Regions from separate parts of the Homo sapiens genome. Here region 2 is linked to region 1. The links are contacts of gene promoters, found by promoter capture Hi-C in human tissues and cell types (Jung and others, 2019). All regions are on one chromosome and are shown on one strand. The core of a region is centred on a gene start or on the middle of the fragment in contact, and the rest is flanking DNA. Distances in the headings are between cores, read along the strand shown. Region 1 holds the start of MFNG (MFNG O-fucosylpeptide 3-beta-N-acetylglucosaminyltransferase). Region 2 overlaps TRIOBP (TRIO and F-actin binding protein).

Region 1 (2,700 bases), core at 62-2,561:
TGATTGAGTTCTTGTCTGCCGGTCACTGTTCTAGGCACTGGGGATTAGGGACTCAGTGATCAAAAAATAAATCCTGCCCTGATATTCTCATGAGGAGGACAGAAACTTAGTTAAACATACAGAATGTTGGAAGATGAAAAGTGTGATGAAGAAAACAGTGAAGTGGCTTGAGAGGGACAGGCCTGGGGGGCTGGGAAGGAGGCGGCGAGGGGTTGCAATGTTAATAACGTGGTCAGGGAAGGCCTCACAGAGACGGTGACCTTTGTGTAAAGACCAGAAGGGAGTGGGGGAGTGAGACGTGCAGGTCTCTAGGGAGGGGCCCAGGTGGGAACAGCAAGTGCCAAGGTCCTGTGGCGGCCAGGTGCCTGGGCCAGCGAGGGTCCCAGGTTCTGGAGTGGAGCAGGGTGAGTAGCAGGAGATGGGGTGGGAGTAACTTGGGAGCCAGCTCACGCAGGGCCTTGTGGGCTGCTGTGTGCGTTTTGGCTTTTGTTCTGAAGAAAATGGGAGCCAGTGCAGGCTCTGAGTGGAGGAGGGAGGAGGTGTGAGTGAGCTTGTGCGAAACAAGATGGAGGTGGTGGCTGGAGAAGGCCCTCTGTCTGTCCACTGGTCAGGTGCTGGGAGAGAGGCAGCTCCAGAGACTGCGGAGTGAGGTCGGGTATGGGCTGGGGCACAGCTGGACAGGTGCCCTCAGGGGACCTCCTGTGAACTAGATGAGGAACAGAGACCTGGGTTCTGCCAGCTCTGCGGCTGAGTTGCTGGATCGTTTTTGCTCATTCTGTGCCTTTGTGCCTTATGTCTTCAGCTATAAACTGGGAACGACAGTCCCAGTGCTGTTGTGAAGACCTCAGGAACTGAGCGAACAACTGTGGGAGCCCCAGAGGTTAAGAGGTTATCACGGAAGGCTTCCTGGAGGAGGGAACCCTTAAGCTTTGAAGTCCAGATAGAACTCAGCCTAGTGGAGGGAATGTGGGTGAGGCTGGTGGAATATGGGAGAGCATCCCGGAGGAAACCTGTGAGCAAAAGCTGGGGGCTGGGTGAAGCAGGACACCAAAGTAATGGGTGTTGAATGGGCCGAGCTGACAGCTCTCTGGGGGAGTGGACGGTGCTGGAGGACACTCCCTTCCACCGGGCACGGAGGGTTTGTTGTGACTTCCTCCCACCGCAGCAGCTGGCAGAGCCGGGGCTGCCCTTTCTGCTGGTGCCTCCTTTCAGCCGCCTCTGTCTGGGGTTCCCTTCGTCTGGCCCCGCCCCTCGGGCTAAGCGGGGCGGGGCCAGGCGGTCCCGGAGGCTGCGGCAGGCCGGACAGCGGGAGCAGGTGGAGGACTGGCGGCGGTCGAGATCGTGCTGCCATGGCTCAGCCTCTGGGTCCAGAGCCTCAGCTCCTACCTCTTCCCTCCTTGCCAGCCCCTGATGCCTGCCAGACTTTTGCCTCTGCTGGAGCCCCTGCCTGACCAGCTTCCCCTCCCTGTCTGGTTGGGATTTGGGGGCTGAGCTGTCTGGGGTCCCAGGGCCAACCAATGCAGTGCCGGCTCCCGCGGGGCCTGGCTGGAGCCCTCCTCACCCTCCTGTGCATGGGGCTCCTGTGTCTGCGGTACCACTTGAACCTGTCCCCGCAGCGGGTACAAGGGACCCCCGAGCTGAGCCAGCCGAACCCGGGGCCCCCTAAGCTACAGCTACACGATGTCTTCATTGCAGTGAAGACGACCCGGGCTTTCCACCGCTTGCGCCTGGAGCTGCTGCTTGACACGTGGGTTTCCAGGACCAGGGAACAGGTGACAAGTGGGTGACATTGGGCCCTGGGGGTGGCCCCTGGCCTAAGGGGTTCTCAGAGGCCTTTCTACTGGGCTGGGGTCCCTGACTGCCTCATGGGAGAAGCTGCTCAATACCTGCCTAATCAGGGATCCTCTTCCTCTCTCCTTCTTCCGGGCTTTAGGGGCTGCCTGCGGCCCTGCCCGTGCCCTGTACTGGTCCTGACTCCAGGTGCACCCAGGTCCTACCGCTCCACCACTTTTGGGGGCCAGGCTGGGCCCCTGCTCCAGGCTCCCGGGTCCCTCCTGGGGGTTCTTCTATTCCTAGCCGCTCCCGTGGGGGCTTCGCTCCTAGCCACCCAGGCCCAGCCTGGCATCAGGGGTAATGGTGGGTGTTGGGCAGCTGGGGTGGAGGCCTCCAAGAGGTCCTGACCCAGACCCGTGCCCAGGCCAGGCTGTCCCACCCAGGCCCTAGGTGCTGTCCTGCCCGGGCTCTGAGGGTGGAGGACGGGAGGAGAATGGTGGGGTCTGTTCTTGGGGGAGGCATCCCTTCGGCCTTCCCGATAGCCCCTGCCGCTGTGTCTCTGCTGCCCCGGGTGTGCCGAGGCCGCCATGTCTGGCCTCCTGTGTTGGCTTCCTGCGGACTGCTTCCGAGGGAGGGAAGGAGAGCGCATGCCACGAGGGTGGCGGCTGAGGCAGTGGTGGGCCGGAGGTTGGGGAGGCCTGCCTGGCACGTGGGATTGTGTGTGTGTGTGTGTGTGTGCTCACACGCACGGAGCTGGAGTGTGCTAGATGTGTGTGACAAGAGGCATGTCTGTCACATGGCTGTGCGGCTCCGGCGAGCCAAGTCCCTTCCAGCCCTTTCCCTCCTCGCATCCAGTATCTTCCTTAAGCAAAGTTAGTGATGTCGGTGTTAGGGACCGTTGATGGGGGAGGTGGAGAATGGGTACAC
Region 2 (2,700 bases), core at 125-2,624, 250 kb before region 1:
GCCAAGGTGGGCGGATCACTTGACGTCAGGAGTGACCAGCCTGGCCAACATGGTGAAACCCTGTCTCTACTAAAAGTACGAAAATTAGTTGGGTGTGGTGGCACACGCCTGTAATCCCAGCTATTTGGGAGGCTGAGGTAGAAGAATCACTTGAACCTGGGAGGCAGAGGTTGCAGTGAGCCAATATTGTCCCACTGCACTCCAGCCTGGGAGACAGTGCAAGACTCCATCTCAAAAAAAAAAAAAAAAAAAAAAGACAGCAGTGCTTAGTAAAGGAAGGGGATAGCGTGGGAGAGGGGCTATCTTCAAAGGATTAATGTGGGGTCTTGTGCATTTTGCCAAGAGCTGCTGGCCGTTGGGGAGAGGGGAGAGCTGGATCCCCATGATTGGACTCCGACCCTTTCATAGAGGACCTTCCTGTCCAAGCCCCCTGCCTGGCTTCTAGCGGGAGGGAAGAGGCAGTGGCCGCCCCTTGGGGTGCGGGGCCCCAGACAGCTGGCAGTGCTCACCTGCCTGCTGGGGGCAGGGCTGGACTGTCTTCGGAGAAGTTGGCTCTGGCCTTGGCTGGGCTGCTGTGACCGTCCCTCGTCCTGGGCCTGGAAGGCCCCCGCTGCCTCGGACTTCCTATGAGCAAATGCAGCCACTCCTCTGAGGGACTGTCCCACTCCCAGCACCCCAGCCCCTCTGCTCCCACCTCCAACAGGAGGAGATGTGGGACAGCCAGGGACCCACTGCAAGCTCGTTGAAGGGCCCTAAGTGAGGATGACTCTCAGGGCCTTAGTTTCCCCTTCTGAAAAATGGGGATGGTTAACACTGCTCTATTCTGCCTCATGAGGCTCTTGCGAACATGACGAGAAAAGTGGGGAGTAGAGGCGGTTGGGTGGGGAGGGGGATCTGGCCCTGGCCATGGCCCTCTCCTGTCTCATCCAGTACTTCCTATGACTAACCACCACCCCACCAGCAGCCCAAGAGCCACCCCCAGACAAAGGTTAGACTGGTCTTTGCGGGAATTAAGATTTATTGAGCACCTACTGTGTACCAGGCACTGGGCACACATAATCATTATGACAAAGCATTTATTGAGTGCTTCTTATGTTCCAGGGGCCAAGCACTTGTATCATGATCGCAGCCCACGAGGTGGGACGACAGAGCCAGACTGCTGTGTGCCCCCGTGTTCCATTCTTTCTGCCTTTTCCTGTCCATATTGTAAATTTTGGATTTCTTTTCCTTTTTCCCTCCCATCACTGTTAACCAACAGAATCCCAGCGCTTAGCCTTGAAAACTCCAGGCCATCCTAGCTGTTGGCAAAAGAGCTCTGAGCAAGATCAGAAGAAAGAAACATTCTCCCTGACAACTTCAGAGAGGCCAACATAAACTGTCCAAGCAAGTGTCTTTTTTTTTTTTTTTTTTTTGAGATGGAGTCTCGCTCTGTCACCCAGGCTGGAGTGCAGTGGCGCGATCTCGGCTCACTGCAACTTCCATCTCCCGGGTTCAAGTGATTCTCTGCCTTAATCTCCCAAGTAGCTGGGATTACAGGCATGAGCCACCACGCCTGACCCTGGGCAAGTGTTGTTTCTAAGACACTGGGCTTCAGGCATTGTTGACGCATCCGATGAAGATCATCTCTAACTTGTGTAAAAAGTCTAGTTCCAGTTAGTTGTCTTGCTTACTAACTGGGAGGCATGGCTGTTAATGATTAACGTGGTATCTCTATTGACAGGTAGAAACACCAAACAGAACCTGGGCATATCTCTCCCTTCCTCTACCTAAGGGGTCACAACAAAAGGCCCAACCACTCCATGAATGTTTATTTTGGTTGGGTCTCAGTTAGCAAATGGAGCCATGTCTTTGGTCGATGAACTGAACCAGGAAGAGAAGCCTGAAAAAGGCCACCCTGTGGTGGACCCAGAGTGAGGCAGCAAAAAGGGAAGTATGAGGAAACTCTGCTCAGGCCTCCATAGGCCCTGCTGTCTGTGGTGGGCCTGTGCCTGAGGAGCCATGCTGGAACGACACCTTCAAAAGTATGGGATTGGGCAGGGCGCAATGGGTCACGCCTGTAATCCCAGAACTTTGGGAGGCTGAGGCAGGCGGATGGCTTGAGCTCAGGAGTTCAAGACCAGCCTAGACAACATAGTGAAACCTAGTCTCTAAAAATACAAAAATTAGCCCAGGTGTGGTGGCTCATGCCTCTAATCACAGCACTTTGGGAGGCTGAGGTGGGTGGATCACTTGAGGTCAGGAGTTCGAGACCAGCCTGGTCAACATAGTGAAACCCAATCTCTACTAAAAATACAAAACTTAGCCAGGCGTGGTGGCACGTGCCTGTAATCCCAGCTACTCAGGAGGCTGAGGCAGGAGGATCGCTTGACCCCAGGAGGTGGAGGTTGCAGTGAGCTGAGATCGCGCCACTGCACTCCAGCCTGGGTGACATAGTGAGACCCTGTCTCAAAAAATATATATATATATATATGGGGTTGGGAGGCCAGGTACAGTGTCTTTACACCTGTAATTCCAGCACTTGGGGAGGCTGAGGTCAGAGGATCACTTGAGTCGAGGAGTTTGAGACAGCCCTGGCAACAGAATGAGACCTTGTTCTAGGAAAAAAAAATTTTTTTAATGAGCCGAGCATGGTGGTACGTGGCTGTAGTCCCAGCTACTTGGGAAGCTGAGGTGGGAGGATCGCTTCAGCCTGGGAGGTTG

Evidence for each region. Contacts are between HindIII fragments. The study calls those that stand out against the background at their distance.
Region 2: a contact is called between a fragment that was not itself captured here and the fragment with the promoter of MFNG in region 1, in 1 of the 25 tissues and cell types used here (spleen).

What each region holds. Positions count from the first base shown.
Region 1 is chr22:37,484,995-37,487,694 of GRCh38, reverse strand. MFNG (MFNG O-fucosylpeptide 3-beta-N-acetylglucosaminyltransferase) reads left to right here and starts at 1,311. Exons shown (of 8, transcript NM_002405.4): 1 at 1,311-1,772. The coding sequence starts at 1,518. RefSeq lists enhancers at 1-418, 419-930, 931-1,440, 1,917-1,966, 2,367-2,426 and a silencer at 1,217-1,346. The HindIII fragment of the contact is 15,221 bases long and covers 1-2,700 here.
Region 2 is chr22:37,731,222-37,733,921 of GRCh38, reverse strand. It overlaps TRIOBP (TRIO and F-actin binding protein), which reads right to left. Exons shown (of 24, transcript NM_001039141.3): 8 at 510-624. Among named protein-coding and RNA genes, the nearest start is that of TRIOBP, 36 kb to the right of the region's middle. The HindIII fragment of the contact is 6,403 bases long and covers 1-2,700 here.